Linked DNA regions of Homo sapiens: all the other regions are linked to region 2. The links are contacts of gene promoters, found by promoter capture Hi-C in human tissues and cell types (Jung and others, 2019). All regions are on one chromosome and are shown on one strand. Each heading gives the region's core, a stretch centred on a gene start or on the middle of the fragment in contact. The rest is flanking DNA. Distances are from core to core; before and after follow the strand shown. Region 1 overlaps TM9SF2 (transmembrane 9 superfamily member 2). Region 2 holds the start of GPR18 (G protein-coupled receptor 18). Region 3 overlaps DOCK9 (dedicator of cytokinesis 9). Region 4 overlaps TM9SF2 (transmembrane 9 superfamily member 2).

Evidence for each region. The method cuts DNA at HindIII sites, captures the fragments that hold promoters and counts their contacts. A contact is called where the count stands out against the background at its distance.
Region 1: a fragment that was not itself captured here is called in contact with the fragment with the promoter of GPR18 in region 2 in 2 of the 25 tissues and cell types used here (lymphoblastoid cells and spleen).
Region 3: a fragment that was not itself captured here is called in contact with the fragment with the promoter of GPR18 in region 2 in 2 of the 25 tissues and cell types used here (H1 embryonic stem cells and dorsolateral prefrontal cortex).
Region 4: a fragment that was not itself captured here is called in contact with the fragment with the promoter of GPR18 in region 2 in 3 of the 25 tissues and cell types used here (IMR-90 fibroblasts, mesenchymal stem cells and spleen).

What each region holds. Positions count from the first base shown.
Region 1 is chr13:99,537,775-99,540,474 of GRCh38, reverse strand. It overlaps TM9SF2 (transmembrane 9 superfamily member 2), which reads right to left. Exons shown (of 17, transcript NM_004800.3): 6 at 2,612-2,700; 7 at 918-1,029. Among named protein-coding and RNA genes, the nearest start is that of TM9SF2, 38 kb to the right of the region's middle. The HindIII fragment of the contact is 5,225 bases long and covers 1-2,700 here.
Region 2 is chr13:99,256,930-99,259,629 of GRCh38, reverse strand. It overlaps GPR18 (G protein-coupled receptor 18), which reads left to right and starts at 1,251. Exons shown (of 2, transcript NM_001098200.2): 1 at 1,251-1,476. All of the region lies in intron 4 of UBAC2 (UBA domain containing 2), which reads right to left. It overlaps LOC124903198 (a long non-coding RNA gene), which reads left to right. Exons shown (of 3, transcript XR_007063846.1): 3 at 1,044-1,191. The HindIII fragment of the contact is 6,968 bases long and covers 1-1,264 here.
Region 3 is chr13:98,961,639-98,964,338 of GRCh38, reverse strand. The region is part of intron 1 of DOCK9 (dedicator of cytokinesis 9); the gene reads left to right. Among named protein-coding and RNA genes, the nearest start is that of DOCK9, 15 kb to the left of the region's middle. The HindIII fragment of the contact is 4,064 bases long and covers 1-2,700 here.
Region 4 is chr13:99,520,091-99,522,790 of GRCh38, reverse strand. TM9SF2 (transmembrane 9 superfamily member 2) reads right to left here. Exons shown (of 17, transcript NM_004800.3): 3 at 2,662-2,700. Among named protein-coding and RNA genes, the nearest start is that of TM9SF2, 20 kb to the right of the region's middle. The HindIII fragment of the contact is 4,991 bases long and covers 1-2,700 here.

The DNA.
Region 1 (2,700 bases), core at 191-2,690, 280 kb before region 2:
AAAAGTATTGCTTTAAATTATAACTAGATGTTTAGATGTCAACATTTAGACCTATATGTAGGTTTTTTTTTTTTTTTTAAGAAAATAATGGAATGGAATGGAATAATTATTCTTTTCTTTATGCCGGGGGCAGCTAACCAGACCAGTCATTCCAGGCACACTGAGCTCTTAATATCTAGAAATATATACTATTTACTGCACCAGGTTTGCAAAATGAAACATTATACGGGGATATTAAACATCACAACTATATTGGATTGCCAAAAGTTTTAAAAAATAGAGTTGGAACACTGCCTAAGATTCTTGCATTTTAATGATAAACTTGCATTTTAAGAAACTTCGCTAATAAAAATACTCCCTTCAATTTTCTAAGACAATCTCCCAATCGGAAACTCTTCATTTAAAGTTCATAATTAAATCTTGATTTTAAAAATGGTGAAAAAATAAAGGTAGAATACTAAGATTCTCATAACAATGAATTTGCATTTTAAGAAACTTCGTTAATGAAAACACTCCCTTCAATTTTCTAAGACAATCTACCAATTGGAAGCTCTCCATTTAAAGTTCACACTTAAATCCTTTAAAGTACGGTGTTGATTTCCCAAATGGTTTCTGAATATATCTCTGGCATTTCCATCCCGTCCTCTAGGCCTGTTTTCTACTTTTGTCTTATATGTATCTCTTATGCTTAACACTAAATCAGGCTCAAGTCTTCAACTTCCTCTATATTCTCATTTAAACTAAGACTCAGTTACAAGAGTGATTATGTTGCTTGGTACACCGACAAACTATCCTAAAAATCAGCTCATTAATAGCTTCTTTATTTGACAAGCATAATCAGTAACATTTTAATTAGTTTAAGTAGTACAAATTTAAAATCAATTTCAGAGTTATACTAAAGATAACAACAGACTCACCTCGAAGCTAACAGAGTAAGTATAGGCAATTTTTATCTCCCCAGAAGCCTTGTTACTTATGTCCATGGGGGGCCCTGAGCAGTCTGGTTTATCTATATGGGTATGTTTGAAGCTGTGGGAAGAAACATTTTGGCAAGATGCTGATAAAGTACAACTTTTTAAAAATGAGGTAAAGGTTACAGATTTTGTACGTATTTTAAAATGCTGCTGACAAAGGTGAAATTATTCATGTCACACTTAATAGCATAAATATTTACATCATATGTGTACAAAATTATAAACATACTTTTGAAAACACTATACTTGAAGAGCATTTAAATAATCTTTTTTTTTTTCTTTTTTTTTTTTGGGACAGGGTCTTGCTCTCTTACCCAGGCCTGAGTGCGGTGGTGCCATCACAGTTCAATGCAGCCTCAAACTCCTGGGCTCAAGTGATCCTCCCACCTCAGTCTCCCAAGTAGATGGGACTACAGGTGTGTGCCACCACACCCCACGCCCAGCTAATTTTTCATTTTTTGTAGAAACAAGGTCTTGCTATGTTGCCCAGGCTGGTCTTGAACTCCTGGGCTCAAGCAATCCTACTGCCTCAGCCTCTCAAAGTGCTGGGATTACAACATGAGCCACCATGCCTGGCCTTTTTTGTTTTTTGTTTTGTTTTTGAGACAAGGTCTTGCTTTGTCACCCAGGCTGGTGTGCAGTAGTGTGATCTTGGCTCACTGCAGCTTCAAACTCCTGGGTTCAAGTGATCCTCCCACTTCAGCCTCCTACAGGCACGGGCCACAGTGCCCAGTTAATTTTTAAATTTTCTGTAGAGACAGGGTCTCACTATGTTGCCCAGGCTGGTCTTGAACTCCTGGGCTCAAGTGATCCTCTCACTTCAGCTTCCTACAGGCACATGCCACCATGCCCAGCGAATTCATTTTCTGTAGAGACAGGGTCTCATTATGTTGCCTAGGCTGGTCTTGAACTCCTGGCCTCAAGTGATCCTCCTGCCTTGGCCTTCCCAAAGTGTTCAGATTACAGGTGCGAGCCACTGTGCCTGGCTAAATAATCTTATTTAAAAAAAAAAAATACTGATGAAGTTTAACTGCCATCTTATTATGGCATGTATTTCTTGACCACCAGTGCATGAGAAAAAGGCTAATTCAATGGCAGAAAAAGTCGTGAAAAAAAATGAAATATTTAAAAAAAAAATCTCATAAATAACTGATATGTACGTTCGTGATAAAAAATAATAAGTTGAAGAGATCTCTTTCAATGGCTCGTATTTCATAGTGGCATCTAACACTGCATAGGGGCTTGAGAAATCACAGTACTTGTCCACTCATTTGGGCCTCTGACCAGAGGAAAGCCACACATTATCTGAGGCAGTGTTCTTTCCACCACGAAGGGGACCACTGTCCCAACCACTCAACTTCTCCCTCCCCACTGACACGTGGAAAAGCTGTCAAAACCTCCTGACTGAAAAACAAAACACTAAGGCACCTTGGCTTGACCGCTTATCATGACAGGAAAATAACTATTGGTATGGTTTTCTGGACAACCCATAACAATAACAAATCATGCCAAAGGGAGTTTTAGTGAAATCAATCCTGAAATGTCAGAATATTAAGGAGTAATTGAGCCCCAAATACTTATTCTTTGGGTCTAAATTTCACTTATACTTGTTTACTTTTTATCATTAATATAATTACCTTTTCGGTTCAAGTTTAGCAGCCACTAATCTTGCTCCCATGGACCCAGTTTCAACAACATGATAGTATATTTTGATGTCAACATGGTT
Region 2 (2,700 bases), core at 2-2,501:
AGAAGTCCTATCTAGTGGACAGATCAATATAATTACCTCATAAGAAGTTATTACAGCGGGAGAAACTGGACCTGGCTTTACCTTGAGTTCTTAAGCAAGTAACTGGCCTTCAATTTCTTCATCCACACAAGAAATAGTTGCTATGGTTGTCTCCAACACTTCTAAAACCCATCATTCTGGCAGGTTGTAACAATCAAAAGTATTTTATCACCAAAGGCAAGGATTTAAGTAACTTTTCTAAGCCACAGATTTACTATGGTTTTGTCTGAGAAAAAAAAAAAAAAGGATGGACCCCAAACTGTCTAAAATTCAAAAAAACAAATACATTTAAGTTCATGAACCCTTTAAAAAGTTGACAAACCATGCATAACCAAACATAAAGATAATTAAAATTTTAGGATAAGCAAATGAGAGATAATTTTTTTTAAGAAATGAGAAAGTAAAACAAAATTAACCTAACAAGGCAGGCAGCGATTCGTTGCTCACTTCCCTTTCTGCTGGTTTCATTTCCCTTCTTAGGTGAAAACACTCTTAATATGTAAATCAGTCCACTAAAGACTTCAGAGTCCTTTCTGCTAAGATTTGCAGAAATTTTTATGCAAAAGAAATTATTTCTAGACTTCCACGCACTAGAAAAGCAGACTTACAAAATACAGCAAACTAAAGTGGATAAATGTATGTGGCAAAGCAGAAGCAATTAATCAAGGATCCTACTTTTAAGCATTTAGAAATGTTTAAATAGTAAAAAGTGGAAATGTGGATATTCTATGATTTTTAATAACTTGGTAGTAAAAAGTGAGACTCCATTTAGGAGTACCTACTAAGTGCCAGGTACTATTAAGCACTTGGGATCTTTCTGGTTTAGGGCCCCTACAATCCTACTGGATATAGTATTATCTCTATTTCAACTGTACAGAAATGAAGTAGGAACAAAGGGTTAGTCAGAGTGGGTAGGTAACTAGACAAAGTCACATAGCTTATAAAGCAAAGAAGCTAGACTTTAAACCCCCTTTTACTCAATATCAAATCTTCTCTTTCCATAGATGATGCAGACTTCAAGCATCAAAGTACACAAACTGAAGAAACTTTATCCTTTGTATATAATTATCTTAAATATATGCCATCATTTCAAGGGGAGCTTATGCTAAGTGTGACTTCATAAACAAATCATTTGTGAAAGAGAAAAACCACATCCAGGGTAAAGTCATAAGGTGAAAAAGCCTATTTCAGAGAGCACTTCCTGAAAGAGACAAAGCAGCAATTAAAGTCAGCCCAGCACCAACTCCGACGCCAAGCGTTACACTGGAAACTACTTTTTAAAGCAACAAAAGAGTCTAAAACAAAATACAACATTTCTTAAATACACTGTTTCCAGAAAGAGCTATTTTAACAGAAGCAACTCAAAGATATCCCTTCGACAGAAGTGGAAGTGCTGAAAAATGCTCATCTCTCACACAGACTTTTGATGGACAGGAGGTAAGCAGCATTTAATTAACTTCATGATTATTGTCAAAAGTAATGCTTTATGTACTGCATTTCAAAAATCATTTCATTTTAATAATACAGGCTGGGCGCAATGGCCCACGCCTGTAACTCCAACACTTTGGGAGGCCAAGGCAGGAGGATCAGTTGTGCCCAGGAGCACCATAGTGAGACCCCGTCTCTATTAAAAAAATATATTTAATTAAAAAAATAAACATAACAAACTATGTTGGTGAAAGACCTTGAAATAGGCTATATAATCATCTTTCCACATTAATATGATTTTACATTTATTTTCAATATTGCTTTACATTAATACTAAATGTAATTTTTTTCAACTTAAGGAAAGAAAATGTTTATGGTAAATCATATGTATATTTAGGAATGTTCATCACATGTTTTCAATTACATTGTTTCATGAAATAACTTAATGGTTTTTAAGAAAAGAAAAGCTACAGATAATCATGGTATCTATAGCTTTTAAAAAGCTGACTTTAAAGTCAATCACTTTTCAATATTTATCCAAAAATTTCTGTGTTTGCAGAGCACAATCAATACTATAATGCCTTTAAAACACATGCATCACTCATTTTTTTTCAAACGTCAGCAAATGAATATAAGTATTGGTGACAAGCTACATAAAAACAGCTTGAGCATAACGTGGGAAAAAAGACTCAAGATGGTTTGTAAGTACAGGACTTATGTCACAAAATTGAAGGATGAGGATAGGTGAAGGGAGTCCTGATGCAATACTAAAAAAAGAAAAACAAATACAAAATTTCATTTATATTATAATTGCTACTATTTAATAAGAATGCATTCCAGTTAAAAATAAGATTTAAGCCTCCAAGATTACTCTCCTTTGAATGACACTAGAGATATAATTTTTCTCTGTAGCACTTTCCTCATTTGATAGAAATTAATATTCTAGTCACACCAATATTTGGAAAATTTAATATGTTTTTAAATATATAGAATTATGCTCCTAAATCATATTTAACCTAAATATTTGAGAAGGAAAGAAGGAGAAGAAGGGAAGAAAGGGAAGGGAAGGGAAGGGAAAGGAAGGAAGGCAGACAGGCACGTTTCTTGTGTTTAACCACAGCAATTGCTCAAGTTAATTCTTAATTATCAATAGCCCGTGATGCCACTGACCACAGACAGCAAATCTCCCCCATAGTTTTCCTTAAAGAGAAATTCTGGGCTGATTTCAAGACA
Region 3 (2,700 bases), core at 89-2,588, 300 kb after region 2:
TATTGAGTGCTTCTGCTATGCTGGGTGCTGTTCTAGGTGCTGGAGAAAGCAGCAAATACAATAGGGCTGTCTTGCCCTCATGGAGCTTATAATCTAGCTGGGCAAAGGTTGGGTTCCTTCTAGTGGGCCAGATGCCACTCCTGGTCCCTGCTGCTGTCATTCATTCTGCTGATTGTTCACACATGTGCCTTCCCTCTGACTGCCAGCTCCCTGGGGCAGGGCCGTGTTCTTTTTATCTTGATGTCTCTGGCACAGTGCATGTGAACCAGCTCAGTAAATACCTGTGGAGAGAGGGAACTCATACTGCTAATCACATGTGTACACAAGGAAGGGAGGCCGCTGTTATTTTCCTGTGCCCACCCTACTTATAGGAAAATGAGGATCCTTCCTGCAAACTTGACAACTTCAAGAAATTCCTGGTGGGGCTACGTAGCGAGAGTCACGTGCATGATAGGAGTGCAGGAAGGCTTGTGTGTCCCACACTTGTGAGCACGTGGCTTCAGAAGCCCCTTTTTGTTGCAAGCTGCCATCTCCTTTTTCCTATCCCCAGCAACAGTACTGGTGTCCTGTTGGCAACATTGAGAAGCGCTTTGAAAGTGGACCAACTTTATCTCAGCCTATCAAGTAGCTTTTATAGCCATGCAGATAAATCAAGGAAGTCCTAAATTCTTTATAAGCAGAAATGACGAATTTCTCATTTCTTAAAATAGCTCCAAGAGTTGCCATTTAGTTTGCTATTTCAAGAAGTGGCATTTGGGATTTCAGCTCTTCTTAACATTTAATCACCAGAGACACAAGGGCAAGAAATGACTGGAAAGTTCATTTGAAGCTATCACATCCGAGGCAAGAGCAGTGAAATTACTGTGCTCTTTGGAGCTTAGCTCTTCCCATGGTTTTCGAGGTTTTGTACATGTTTGGCCAGAACTGAACTCAGTTTGTGGGCGAACATTGTGCAGGTCTGCTGGATCCAGAGGAATCTCATTTTCCTGGCACTAAGAACATTTCCTGCTTCTGATTGCCTTTTGATCTGGAATTTCAATTTGCATGATGTTGGGCCGCCAGACCCTAAGCAGCAAATGCTGTGGGAGGGAGGGAGTTCCAAGAGATTGAAGGGTGGGGGGATCATGGTGGGGCCTTTTGGGGTCCTGCTTTCTGGCCCCCATGGGAGGTGTAGGGAAGTGTGATTGCTAGAGGCGCGCCATGCTGCCCGCTGCCATGCTCAGTAGATGGGGACTGGCGGGGCCTCGGTATCAGTGGCTCACCTGTGTCCATGTTGTCCCTTGAGATGAGGAGCTCTTTCTCCCCACCCACTCTGATCATGCCACATAACCCTCTGTGAGCAGTGTCCCATGGGGTGTCCTGCCTGCCTGCTCTCTTCTTCACAATCCAAGACCCTGCTGCTGTCATGGAGCTGCCCTAATGGGAGGGGGTCAGAAGTGCTTTTCTCTATCGCCCACCCCCAGCTGTGGTTATTCTTCGTCTTCCCTGGCACACACCACAGCAATACTCAGTCCCATCTACGGTATAAGCAGCTGTCTGTTTCCTTTGGGTTCAGCCCCTGAATTTCAGTGTCTGGATGCAGTTTTCTCTATATTGGGTCATTATTTGTCTTCCTTTGTGCATGTCCCTGTCATTATTGCCTGTTTTATTTTGTATGTTTCTGGAGGTCAAGGAAAGTTTTTTTTTCTTTTTTTTTTTTTTAAAACCTATCATGCAAGCAACATATTTAATAATATGAATAGCTCTATTTATTATAATATGTGTTTACAGTTTGCCAGGCTTTGCCTTTTCCATGCATTGACTCAGTTGAGTCCAGCAGCAGCCTCACATGACTGCACAGCTCGGCTTTCCTAACCATGCTGCCATCCTCGTCAGCATTCGTGTGGACACACGACCCTATCAGGGCAGAGTCAGGTTTTGTGAGGGACAAAGCTTACAGAATTTTAGGGGCTTTCTTTAAGAAAAATAATTCAACATTTGAAAACAAAATAAGGCACGGAGGTGAACATTTATTTAGAATTTAAAAAGAAAGAAATTTTAAAAAGCTAACACAAGCCATAAACACCAGAAATCCAGGGAAACAACACATTTTTATCAATGAACCTCTAGATACACCTCCATACTACTTCCCTATAGTTTTAGGGCTTCATATTCTTTTATTGCCTCTTCATATGATCATGATTTTGTATTATCATTCTTCATTGCAAGAACAGATCAGTGTTTCCCTTGGCATGATTAGTCCAAATTTGTATTTTATTATTGAGAGTTTAGAAAAGTTTCTTCTAGTTCCACAACATCTGGGAATGTCACAGGAATTTTTAGGATTGGAAAAGCTTCTGTGAGGTTTCTTTTGTACATGAGCAATGCAGTTTGGGGGCATTCTCAGTTTGTGCAATGACTAATCTTACATACCGCCAAGTAGTCCTGGGGCCACATACCTTAGAACATGTCTGAATTGTGCCATGGCGTCCCATCTTCTGTGTCATGACATTGGGTGGACACAGTGGGCACGTTCCTGGAAATCTTCCTAAGCCAAGGTGCCCAGCAACAATGGAGCTGTATGGGAACCACTGGCAAGCTCTTTTAGCCCCACAGGACGTGTCCCTGGGGCCTGAGTGGGATGCTGAGGGTGGCAAAGATAACAAGACTCAGCCCTGCCCTGAGGCACTGATAGTGGAGCTGAGTGTTTGCAGGTCACAG
Region 4 (2,700 bases), core at 117-2,616, 260 kb before region 2:
TCAAAGTCTGCCCCAAAGGGCAACACCTCCCCATGGGTTTGAGTATTTTGCTGGGTTTCCTTCTGTTTCCTGCTAGGGACTCCTGCTGTCTTCCCAGTTCACTAAGGGCATTACTGATATTCTTCCCACCCATCATTTCTCAAGGGCAAGACATAAGTAGAGAGATGGGGCTGAGAGGCTGCTGGAATATTTAAGATTGTAAAATTTAAAAAGCATGCCTGAAAACAGTCATCTGCTATAAGAAGAATGCAATACCATTCAAAGTAATCTTCCAAATACCCCAAGAGGGAAGAGGTGTTTCGCAAGTTACATGCCTGCCCTGCTCAATGGCACCCATGTCCATACACTTTGAGTTCCTTCCTCCTCAATGACTTCATCCCATTAGGCCTTTGAATCTACTGTGTTTAGGAAACTTTAAAAGTTACTGGCAATTTTAGGGTAGACAATTTCAGATTAGAATATTTGAAAGGGGCCGGGCATGGTGGCTCATGCCTGTAATCTCAGCACTTTGTGAGGTCGAGACAGGCAGATCACCTGAGGTCAAGAGTTTGAGACTAGCTTGGCCAACTTGGCAAAACCCCATCTCTACGAAAAATACAAAAATTAGCTGGGCATAGTGACACACGCCTGTAATTCCAGCTACTTGGGAGGCTGAGGCAGGAGAATCACTTGAACCCAGGAGGCGGAGGTTACAGTGAGCTGAGATCTTGCCACTGCACTCCAGCCTGAGCAATAGAGTGACACTCTGTCTCGAAAAAGAAAAAAAAAGTATTTGAAAGGCGTCAGACGGCGGCTCACGTCTATGTCTATAATCCCAACCCTTTGGAAGGCTGAGGCAGAAGGATTGCTTGAAGCCAGAAGTTCAGGACAAGCCTGGGCAACAGAGTGAGACCCTGTCTCTATAAAAAATTTAAAAATTGGCTGGATGTGGTGGTATGCATCTGTAGTCCTAGCCACTCAGGGGAGTGAGACAGGAGGATCACTTGAGACTAGGAGTCTGAGGCTGCAGTAACCTATGATTGTGCCACGTCACTCCAGCCTGGGTGACAGAGCAAGGCTCCATCTCTTAAAAAAAGAAAAGAAAAAAAAAGAATATTTGAAGAGGATATATTTACAGTCAAAACCAATCAACTTGTAGTGGATTAAATTTGCACAGTGATGTTTCTTTTCCCCCAGGGCTTCACAGTGTAGGTGCAGGTGCTGGAGGGAGTAAGACGGTTGGTGAGATGAATCTAGGCTTCGGGATTTGCTGGACAGATAATAAATGTTGTGCTCCATGTAATAAAATGTCGAGGGAGATGGGGGTGCCTCGTGAGAAAGCAGGGAAGGTGGCTATGGATGAGGTCTAAGACATAGCAGAGACGCGAAGCCAGGAGAGGAAGCTGTCGGGCTGGGGAATAACACCTGGAGTCAAGTTAGAGCCATCAGAACACACATTCTCATGTGGACAGATGCCCATGGTAGAGAGTTAAAGGAAAAATGCAAAGTGTGGCATATAGTATGTTAAAACAAATAAGTAAATCTAATCTATTTAATGTAAGCTTATAGGTGTATGAAAATTTTCAGGAAATTTTAATAACAAACTGTGAAGTGGAACTGCACATTTATTATTATTTATTCTTTTGCATCATTTAATTTTTTTATATGGTGATACATTATTATAATAAACTACTTTAATGTTTCTAAAAGCAAAAGACCATTGTTCTTTGTACAGTAGGAGAACAGATACAAAACAAACAGGGATTATGCAATGTGGAAGGATAATAGGCTTAAAAGATAACAGATTTAAAGGCAAAAGAATTCTGAGAGATGATGAAGTACATATGTTGAAAAGAATACCTTATATTGTGCTTAGTTTGGTTTAACTGGTGTTCGAAAAATGTACCAAAGATGTTCCAAATACATCAAAATAGAAAGGTTAGGCTAGGCATACTGGCTCAAATCTGTAATCTCAACACTTTGGGAGGCCGAGGCGGGCAAATCACTTGAGTTCAGGAGTTTGAGACCAGCCTGACCAATATGTTGGAACCCCATCTCTACTAAAAATACAAAAAGTTGGCTGGGCATGGTGCCATGCACCTATAGTCCCAGCTACTCGGGAAGCTGAGGCACGAGAATTGCTTGAACCCGGGAGGCAGAGGTTGCAGTGAGCTGAGATCTCACCACTACACTGCAGCCTGGGCGACAGAGCAAGACTCTGTCTGGAAAAAAAAAAGAAAGATTAGCTTCCAAAAATCCCAGTGCGGGAGCCCAGGCAGCATTGTACGTGCTAACGGAGAGTGTCTCTAGATACTGCTGGAAAACAGGGGGAAAGAGACACAGAGCAGCTGAGACAACCTCTCATGACTGGAAGCTGGGTTCCAGGACCCGGGTTTCAGGACCCTCTGTAAAGGAGGCAGAGCATCTGAGCCCTGCCCTTTAAGCCACCGTCTTAACATTCCTAACATTAGTTGCGTGAATGTTCATTAAGACAGACTTATCAATGACACACTGTGAGAAGGAGAAGGATCCTTCTAACTTTGATTTTAAGAACCTATTCCTAGATGAAAAAGAGAAATGAACTCCTCCTTAGCAATGATAGCTGAGTTATCTCAGGCTTTTCTTAAATAACAAAAACAAAAGCTGTAAGTAAATAATTATTATGTAACACTAAATACAAACCTTATATGGTGAAGGTTCAATTCTTTCCCCGAATAGTAC